Regions from separate parts of the Homo sapiens genome. Here all the other regions are linked to region 1. Evidence: promoter capture Hi-C in 16 types of primary human blood cells and fetal thymus (Javierre and others, 2016). All regions are on one chromosome and are shown on one strand. Each heading gives the region's core, a stretch centred on a gene start or on the middle of the fragment in contact. The rest is flanking DNA. Distances are from core to core; before and after follow the strand shown. Region 1 holds the start of CLXN (calaxin). Region 2 has its middle 34 kb from the start of SNAI2. Region 3 has its middle 13 kb from the start of SNAI2.

Region 1 (3,569 bases), core at 444-2,943:
GTTCTTCCGTTAAAGAAAATTTAAAATTATTATAATGTCCATGACGTATAACTATTTCTATAGACTTTAACTAATAATCATCTAAGTTTGTAAGACTCATTGAAAATTTTTTAGTAAACAAAAAAATCAAGAGCAGACTTTTTCCTGCCATATTTTTACTTACCTTTAAAAATATACACTCACCTTTTGATTGTTCACAGAATGATTGTCTGCAATGCATTCAAACTTACCGAACAGAGACTAAATCAAATTCAAACTTACGGAAAGGGACAAAATCAGTATTGTGTATAGCAGCTATTGCATTGTTTTTGAATATTTATCAAAAATGTTTACTAGATGTTTACTAGAAGAATACCTATTCTCCCAGAAATGAAAGTGTTTTAAGAAAAACAATAACAGAACAAAACCCTCATCAGAGTATAGTAGTCATAATAATATCTTAAATTACAGGATTTTTTTCCTAAACATTTTAAGATGCGTACACACACCATAATATTCATTTATATCACCATCCACTAAGAGAGCATTTCTTACCAGGTATTAAATCAGATACTAATGATAATTAGAATGCACTAGATCTTACAATCTCTAAAACTACATCAACATGTTTATTCCTTCTTTTTTGAGCGACTCGGTTATTTGGGGGATTGTTGCTTCTGTTTCTTCAAGTGGCCAGTAGTTTTGCAATTAGCACACACAACTTCTAAGTTTGCTCGACAGGAAATTATCTTCCTCATCTAAACCATACCCACGGCTTCCTTGCTAAAGTGCAATTATGTTTTTCAGTCTGAATATAAACTCAAAGTTTCCTATGAAATTCTAGGACCACCCTTTCAAATGCGAGATTAGAGCAGGTGCCTTCAAATAGGGCTCATCTTGTCACCTGCAAAGTCTCCTTTATCTTTCAACACCAGGGGCCACTGGAAAGTGGGAGTCTAAAGTTGGGAACCCATTCTTTACCACGTGTTTAGTTGTGCTGAACTCTGGTTTCCAAACAAATATTGTTCTGAGGCACAGATGAGATGACACAACTCATCTCTCCGAAAGATGTTGAGAAGTTGAGCACCGTTTTCTCCTATGGGTCTCTTGGTAAGCTTCCAGAACTTGGACCTGCGGGTGTATGTGCGAGCTATAAAGCAGGGTGAGTGCACGGTCTACCTTGGTGGTGCTACTTTTCTTGAGACCAGTTGGTTTTAGCATTTATTTTACACCTCATTGAGGCTAACATCACATGTTTCTATCAGGTAAAAGAAGAGGGTTGGAGAAGCAAGTAAATGCATGTGTGGGAGTGTAGGTAGCACCAGAGGCGGAGGCCTGGGTTCCTAAGATCAAACGCAAGGAGCTGGCACCCCGGGATTCCCTCTCTGACTTCTGCTTAAGGGGCCGGGGTGGAGGGGCGGTAGGTAGCCCACAGAGTCCCAGCAGGCGGGAAGCAGGCACAACAGCGGACCTTAGCACGGGGTGGGACCCAGGCTCGGTCCAGGAGCCTCGGCCTGTCCAGCACTACATTCTTACTTACAATGCTTGCAATTTTTGGTTAAGGTGTCCGTCAGCTTCTGCAGTTTCTTGCGGTTCATGTCTGGCGCTCAGAGAATCGGGCCGCGGCGGGGGTCTCTGGGCGCGCGGCTACCGAGACCCTCGCGGGACCCCCGCGAGCCCTGGTGCTGGGTCAACGCGGTGAGGTCTCAGTTACTGATCTCGTGCGCGGCCCTAACAGACGGTGTAGCCAAGGCAACGGCTCAGCCCGCCGCGGATTGGCTCCCAGGCTGCCCGCGACGTAGCCAAAGCTACAGCTGGGCCCCGCCCATCGGCTCAGCGACTGCTCGCGCTGGGTTCTCGGTGCGCGGTGCCGCCGGCAGGGTCCCAGCTGGCCGCCTTGAGGGCTGTATTCTGACTGTTGACGTTGGAGTTTAAATGTTCAGTTGTTGCTGGCTTTTGAGTTCGCAGCCTCTTTGCTTGATTGCAGTGTAAATCATTAAAATCTGAAATGTGGTGTGCACGCTGTATGAGAGGTGTTTCGGGTCGTGAGCGTCACGCCTCAAGGGAAGGCCCAAGATCTTGGACATCTTGGGGGCTGGAGCAGCGTCACAAAATAGCAAGGTGCTGTCCAGAGGACGATCTTGCCGGGCCTCCCGTCAGAGGGCTAGAAGCTTGCTCTTTGGGCGGAGCCACTGCTTAGGTTTTCAGTCTTGGTGAGGTAACAGGAGGCAGTCTGTCACCTGAGGTCTTCGAGCTTTTAGTTGTGTTTCTGAGAGCAAGGGGAAATTGGAATACAGCCACGGGTTGCCTAAGGAGCGGGACGCGTTCCGAGGTCACTAGGAGATTTCATCACTGTGTGCACATCACGGTGCACCGACACAAACCTAGATGGCCTTGCCTACTGCACGCCAGGCTGTATGGTACAACCCATTGCTTCTGGGCTGCACCCCTGCACAGCAGGTCACAGCGCGGAATGCTGCAGGCAGCTAAAACAGAGTGCTAAGCACTCTGGGGAAGGTGCAGTGTTCCAGTACAGTGTTACATCTTATGGGACCACTGTCCTAATGTTGTCTGATGTTGACTTAAATGGCGCTATGTGGCTTGTGACTGTAGTTTTTTTCTTTTCCCACTGCCCTCATCTCACTTCCAAAAGATGGAGGTTGTCTGTGGAATCTGAGGAAAGCCACGAGGAATTTTTATACTGCTTAAATAGGCATTCCCCCCAATGAAAACGGGCTGACAACACCACTTGGGTGTGGGGTACAGCCCAATCTTGCTTTTCCGGAAAATATCTCAGCAACCTTGGTCCTTTACTTATTTGAAAGACAAGTTCTGTGCCGGCAGACAAAGGATATTCCTTACATCTTCAGGGTGGGAGGACTTTCTGCTTTTCCTGATCACAGAGGGGATATCCTCTTTCAGCTAAGGCAGCAATAAAAAGGGGTGGCTCAGCCAGGATCACCAAATCTACAGTATTCTCCAGAGTGCCTGCTCGTTTAACTTCAGAGGGGAAAATGACAAACTATGTTATTGTACACATACTGGCATTTTTAGACTGAAGGCAGAAAAATTCTACTAACCATGAGTAATAATCCCAAATGAAATAATTCCAATGTCGAGGCCTCTGGTTTTTCTTTACTGTTTCATTTGTTTGTGGAATGAAGGATTGGGATGCTGTTTGAAACTAGAGCAAAGGGTGCTTGGTAAAGGCATGGACTGTGTTATCCTAAAGCAAATGTCCTAACAACAGTTACCCGATATGAATTGATGGTGATTATGAGTTTGTAACAGTAGTATTTTTAAATAGTGTTTCTACATATCCCCTTGTCTAGAAGAGTGAAATTCCTGAGACCATAGAGAACAAAAGGGAAAGACTGGACATATTTGAATTATACTTACCTGTGACACCTTATTGATTTCTGTTGGATCACAGAGCTGTAGCAAATACTTAATTCCTAGAGATTGCTGCACTGCTCACTTCAAGAGACAAGGAACCGAAAGAGTGGTTGTCAGTAATTACTAAGAGACGCTGTGGGCTCCCCACCTGATGTACTAGGCCTGTGTTGGGGAGCAGGCCTGCGCTGTTGGTG
Region 2 (3,293 bases), core at 637-3,136, 150 kb after region 1:
CTTCAGTGCCTCACGCTGGATTTTGCAGAGTCTCAGAACATGAAGGAGGTTTGGAGGCAGCTGCTGCTCTGAAAGACAGAGAAATCGGGCATGCACAACCTGGGCTTGGTAATTTAAACCAAACTCAAGCTTTTTTGCAGATCCTTAGGTCGAATGCTGCCTCTACTTAAAGTTTGATTTTCCATATTATTTTATATGTGTATATGAAAAGAGACCAACCTTATTATATTGACTTTCAATATCACCTAAAAGCCTATTGAACTTTAAAATACCATATAAACAAGTAACCAAGAACATATTTATAATGTTGTCAGCATTGCTCTGATCTATTTAGCATCTACTGTATTCTTGCAGCTTAACATAAAAGTAGCACATTCTTGGAAAGTCTGTCCCTGAAAACCTCATGCAGGTCAGCTTCATATACTGTTCTCCATCACAGTACCTCATTCAGTTTCTTCCTAGCACTTACCTTCATTATCTGAACTTATGTTTTTATTTATTTTTGTCTTTACATTTCTAGTATGTGGCTTCTGCAACTAGGATGTAAGTGCTGTGAGTGTAGGGACATCATTTATCTTTTAACTGCTGTGCCACTGTGCTTTGACCAGTGCCTAACTACAGGAAAACTCAACAATAATTGTTGTTAAATCAATCAATCCATCAATTCACCAACATACACTGCAAGGTTATATTATCCTCATTGAATGGATTAAAATACCGAAGCTCTCAGAAGTGTGGACATTCTGAGGGCTCTTGTCATCTTGAGAAGCTGTTGTGCAAAAGCCAAAGACAGGGTGGGTTACTTACACATTAGCACTGAATAATAAATACGTGCATATTTGTGTAAAATGTTAACTATTTCCCTGTGCTCCTCATGGCCACTTATGTATTATTGTCCCTGATACAGTCTCAAAGCCCAAAGTTTTGAACTTTGCAACCAAATTATCCTATTTCTTATCCAGTCCTGATGTCAGCAGTTTGAAGATCCATAGGAAATAGGGACTTTCAGCAGGAAGTCCTCTAGCCATGCATTGATCTTCCCTGAAGATTCTACCCCCTGGCTTACATCAGTGATCATTGCCTTGTACCTGAGATACAGCTTCCTTGGCTTTCTGGAAAATGTTTGTTGTAGACTGTATTTTCCAGTGGTGCTCACAGTAATATTTCCCATCTTATAGGCTTCTTTACAATGTGACCTTGGCATTCTTTCCGTGGAGAGTGAGATCTTCCTATGTTCCTCCTGTGAATCTGGGCAAGGTTTAGGTTGTTCCGACTATAGCATATGGTTGAAGTGGCACCAAGTGAGTTTTTAGGATAGATCATAGAAGGCCGTGCAGTTGAATCCTAGGCATTGAAATAATGAAAGAAAGCAATATGAAAACGTGGGCATTGCCCCAGGGTACTCCCTTGTAGTTTGCTTCTGCATACTTATTCCCCTGACATAAAGCTGTTATTACTACTATGGGAATGACCACTCTGCTCTCTTTGTTAATTAAATTAAATTAAATTAAGTTAAATGTGGATGGAACATTTGACAGGTAGCCAGAATCAAGTGCTTTCTTGCTATACCACATGTTTATAGAGTCTGCAGAAGGATACTCCAGATGAGGGACAGTGCAAAACTGTTTCTAAGAATATGCAGAAGATAAGTCATGACAGAGAAAGCCTCTTTCTCTTAGTTCTCTCTTTTTCTCTCATTTTCCATCTCCTCTTCTCTCCTTTTCCCCCTCTTTTCCAATATTGATGGTCCATTCTGTGCTTCCACTTCGATCTTAATTGCGATAAAAATGCATTTTTCTTATTTTCTCTGCTTTCTTCTGCTTACTCTTTAATCTTAAATACAGGTGTACCTCAGAGATATTGTGGGTTAAGTTCCAGACCATGACAATAAAGTGAATATTGCAATAAAATGCATCACACAATTTTTTGGTTTCCAGGAGCAAATAAAAGTTATGCTTCCACTCTACTATAGACTATTAAGTGTGCAGCTGTACCACGTCTAAAAACAGTATATACCTAATTAAAAACACTTTATTGCTAAAAAATGATAACAATCATCTCAGCCTTCAGTAAGTTGTCATCTTTTTGCTGGTGGAGGGTCTTGCCTCAATGTTGATGGCTGCTGATTGGTCACAGTAGGGATTGCTGAAGGCTGGGATGGCTATGACAATTTCTTTTAAAAAGACAACAATAAAGTTTGATGCAACTGGAGTCAATTCTCTCAAGCCCTGCTTCTGCTTTATCAACTAAGTTTATGAAATATTCTAAATCCTCTGTTGTCTTTTCAGCAGTGTTCACTGCATCTTCACCCAGAATAGCTTCCCTCTCAAGAAACCACTTTATTTGCTCATCCATTCAAGTTTCATCACAAGATTGCAGCAAGATGTGTGTGTGTGTGTCTCTGTGTGTGTGTGTGTGTGTATGTATAGGCTGTAAGCTGTGTTTATTATGAATCCCCTTCCAATACACTGTGCTAGGTAATCTCAGTGGGCTGGTCGTGAACACCACGAGGTCGGTGTGAATGTCAGAACTTAGTGTGGAGCTTAGCAGTGCTATATACGTTACTATATAAGTGGTACTGCTGAACTTCAAACTAAGTTCCAATTACAATGAATGACCACTTTCTTTATCCTGCTTAGGCATTTTCATTGACTAATACTTTGCACAACTATTGATTTAGTGAGGCCAGTTTTTGATGACCGTGAGCAAAGCACAGATTAGAGTAGAATCTGAATGTCTGCTTCCCGGCCTTGTCCATATAGCAGAATGTCACTCTCTTGCTAACCCCTGCATCCGTCTTATCTTCTGGCTCTTGGATCGCAGTTTTGGCTCTGTTGCCATTATCATCTCAAGTGTCTCCCTTGGGATCGTCTGCCATTGGGATCCTCTGTTCTGGCTGAACAGTCTGTCCTCGTGCCCTCTCCTCAGAGATGCCCTTTAGTGCTGCTACACCCTGGGTGGAGTTCCCTGCCCTGCATCCTCTCCTGACTCACTGGTTCCACCTCTGTTCTTCTGTTTTTTCACTTTTTTCCAGCTTCTCTATCTTATCCTAATGTAGCTTTGCTCACCAGTTTAAAACTAATTCAGAAAGTAATGTTCCCTGGGATACTGAAACAAACACACAAAAGGACTTTATGAAATACCCATTAAAAAGTAGCAACAATTTCTCTAATTCAAGCATAGTTCATTGAGCTATGAATGAACATGATCATAAGTCACATCATGATCTGTGACTTATATAACTTATGTTGTTACTAGTACAAAGCTATCAGTTTGAAATTTCCTAGAAAATG
Region 3 (3,639 bases), core at 1,112-3,611, 170 kb after region 1:
TATGCTTGACATGGGAGCAGGATGGAGCAGATCACATGGTCCATGGGTGGAAGGTCCTTGCATTCTCAGGCAAGCAGGCTCCTCTGAATGGCAGGCGGAGGCCAGCCCCACCATCCATGCCTTGTCTTGACTTGGGTGTTCTGGCTCCTAAATAAATACTGACTTCCTGATCCTTGTGGAGGATCCCTGGAGGTATCCATCTGTGCACAGCACAACCTTGTTTCAGTTTCAACAAAAGAGTCAGGAAGTTATCATAGCCTACTGCCTTTGTGTAAAATGTCCAGTCACAGGCAAAAATTTTGGCAGGTGGAATTCACAGGTGTCAGTGGAAATTGTATTCATAAACAAAATAGGTGAAATCCTGGTTCTAATCTTCCTTTTCAACTCTTCTTTAAATCATTTCTCTTCTGAAATATCATTTTTAACCCTCCTGATTGAACAAAAGATTCTTTGTTTTTAAAAATTACTTTATCTGTAACATAAACCCAGATAACAGCTAAAGTTCATAAGAAGAGAATAATGACTCAAGCTTTGGGCATAGAATAAGAGATAAATATAAAACTCTGTCCTTTGGGCTTTTAAAAATATTTATTTCTTTTCTGATTTCGTAAGTAGTTTATGTATCCCAATGAGTGTACACATTATGTAATGCACTATAGAGAAGGCAAAATTGTAAAAAGTTTTGTCAAACTCAATGGATGATGAAGAGACATTTGTGTATTTTAGTGGTCTATAAATTGGAGAAACATCATTCTGACTTCTTCAGCTTTTTGCATCATGCTGAATGAGACAATGATAGTACATGCATACTATCTACACACGCAAATCCATGACAATGACATGGCTGATTCTCTGATCATGCCAATGTCAGGTGGTTTTGTATTAAACAATGATGAAGAGCAGGTAGGAGAGACTGATGAGAGAAGAATGAATGCCTCTTTCTAGTAGGCAGGGGTAAGACAATGTTTTCAGTAGGTAAAAAGTACAATTTCAGCTTTCTTCTGAGTGTTAGTGGGTATGGATTGAAAGCCAGGCTCACTTTGGGAAGCCAAGATGGGCGGATCACAAGGTCAGGAGATGGAGACCACCCTGGCTAACATGGTGAAACCCGTCTCTACTAAAAAAATACAAAAAATTAGCCAGGCTTGGTGGCGGGCACCTGTAGTCCCAGCTACTCAGGAGTCTGAGGCAGGAGAATGGCATGAACCCGGGAGGCGGAACTTGCAGTGAGCAGAGATGCACCACTGCACTCCAGCCTGGGCGACAGAGTGAGACTCCGTTTCAAAAAAAAAAAAAAAAGCCAGGCTCAACTTTAAGGAAAAAATAAAATAAAACACCAAGCTCCGCTCCACTGTGCAGGACACCATGGCATGTGCTTGTCATCAGTTCCTCCACTCACCTGGGTCCAGGAATTGTCTCCACCATAGAGCTGATGAGACAGAGAGCAGCTTACCCACCTCATAACATACATGGTAAGGCAGCAACCTGAAACAAGGCCAGTCTGAGGACAGAGCGCTGATCTTCCAACTGCTATGCTGAAATAACAAAACCACTATGGCCTGGATTAGAACATGGTTGCACCAGTTGTTTTTTTAAAAAAACATAGTATATGTATTATATTATATTATATTATATTATGTTATATTATGGTATATTATATTATATATTTGCCCACTGTTATTTCAAACATCCCAAAAGTAATTTCTGAAAGACAATTACAAATGCAGCACTCTTCCTGTTTAAGGTTTTCCAAATTGAAAAGAAGAGAATGGCTGCCTTTGAAATCAATCAGGACACCTCTGTGGAAAATTACCTGGGCTGTTTCATCCTTGGCGTGAGCAGTGGTGGGAGCTGGCATCCCCTGGAGACACACACGCCTGGCCCTGGGTCCAGCCAGCACCCACTGGCAACTCAGCCCTGGAGCTGTTGAGATTTTCCTAAATTGTAAAAAATCTGAAAGTTATGTTTTAGAGTAATCTTTTCTTCTAATTCTTTTTTATTGCCTTTTTATTGCCTCAGGAAAGCAGTAACACAAAAGATCCTTTTACATCTTTTGATTTAAAAAGCAGAATCCAAGAGGGGCTTGTCTGGCTGTGTTCATGGAGAAAAATCTGTAGCTGATCAGTGCTCATCCTCCCAGGAAAAGCCCCATTACAGCAAACAAGTTCATTTATTTTAGCCTAGAACTCAAGAAAATTATTCAAAACCCTGAGATACAAAAAACAAGCCAGATCCTCACTTAATTTAATTTTATAAAGAAACCATCATAGTTATGCAAGCTATAATTTATTTCTTTCATTATGTAAAGGTTTTTCATTATGTAAGGGAGCCCCTACTCCACACCCCTTCCATCCCTGCATATTTTATAGTATATCTTTTCAGCTTGATTTCAAACTCTTTCAAAGCCCCTGTGATGTAGACTCTTTTTTTAAAAAAGGCATTGATAAGGAATTTAAAGTCATTCAAAAAAAAAAAGTTTCTGTTTTTTTCTTTTTTCACTAAAGGGTCTTGTTCAATCCTTCTTTTCACTGACTACCTAACAGTGATTGATTGGCAAATAGTAGGCATGCAATAAATAAGAGGAGAAAGAGAAGGGATTCTGAAGTTGTATAAAACTTGTGATTTACAGCACATCATTAACTACAACAGTAGAGGCTCAGTCCTGGCTCCTAACTTCCCACTCTGTTATTCTCAGAATGTGGTCCCCACACTGGCTGTGCCATCTTCCCCCAGGAGCAGGTTAGAAATGCAGATTCTCAGGTCCATTACAAACCCTCTCACTCAGAAATTGGGGGTGGGACCCAACAATTCCTGCCTTAACACACCCTCTAGCTGATTCCCATGGTCGCTGAAGTTTGATCATCTCGGAGGCAACCCTATCCTTGCTCCTCTGATTTCCTTCCTGCCATGGGTGAGCAACCCATGGCCTCTGGGGCCTCCCTTCTCCTCCTCTCTGGAGGCAACAGGCTGCTTCAAACCATCTAATCTCTGAAGATGGAGGGGGGCCAGGGCTCTACTTCTGACCCCTCAGGCTAAGGCACAGCTGGGATGTGAGCCTCATTCCTGACACAGCGATGGGGAAGTGGGGCCAGTGGTCACTAAGGCTTCATCAGGGATCAGTTGTGTGTTTTAGGCTGGTACTCAGAAGAATGTCTTTATCCCCAAGGACATATAATTTATAGTCACCACCAGAGTTCAGAGCAGCTCTGAAGCCCATACTGGACAAGCACAGGGGGAGGAGGGAAGAAACAGCAGCTCCAGGGCACGATGGTCCTGCAGGCCTCCTCCCACCCACCTCCTGGAAGTCACGACCTGAGGTGGTGGCAGACCTCCTAATAAGCGTAATTATCTATTATTTATTTATCTAATTATCTATTATTTTATTGCATTTTGGACTTGTTTAGGTGTTATGAAATAAAAGCATTTAAAAGAGAGGGAAGAGATGCTTGTCACCAACTTGGAGACAACGATGTCCCCCAACGAAACTTATTTTCAAATTTGCATTAATGTTAATATATAATAAAGGAATAAAATAAAATGACATGAATAAAAGTAATCAGAGAACTGGAGAAAAATGCATCAGGTAACATCCCTTTGGCAAAATTCCAAACATTTAAGAAAAATGATGGTTCCAGCGCA

Evidence for each region. The method cuts DNA at HindIII sites, captures the fragments that hold promoters and counts their contacts. A CHiCAGO score of 5 or more calls a contact.
Region 2: a contact is called between a fragment that was not itself captured here and the fragment with the promoter of CLXN in region 1, in 2 of 17 cell types (M0 macrophages and M2 macrophages). The highest score is 7.4, in M0 macrophages.
Region 3: a contact is called between a fragment that was not itself captured here and the fragment with the promoter of CLXN in region 1, in 2 of 17 cell types (M2 macrophages and M0 macrophages). The highest score is 7.1, in M2 macrophages.

The regions. Positions count from the first base shown.
Region 1 is chr8:48,733,575-48,737,143 of GRCh38, forward strand. CLXN (calaxin) reads right to left here and starts at 1,694. Exons shown (of 6, transcript NM_024593.4): 1 at 1,520-1,694. The coding sequence starts at 1,577. RefSeq lists an enhancer at 1,099-1,773. The HindIII fragment of the contact is 1,056 bases long and covers 1,093-2,148 here.
Region 2 is chr8:48,885,404-48,888,696 of GRCh38, forward strand. No RefSeq gene overlaps it. Among named protein-coding and RNA genes, the nearest start is that of SNAI2, 34 kb to the right of the region's middle. The HindIII fragment of the contact is 3,519 bases long and covers 128-3,293 here.
Region 3 is chr8:48,906,858-48,910,496 of GRCh38, forward strand. No RefSeq gene overlaps it. Among named protein-coding and RNA genes, the nearest start is that of SNAI2, 13 kb to the right of the region's middle. The HindIII fragment of the contact is 3,669 bases long and covers 528-3,639 here.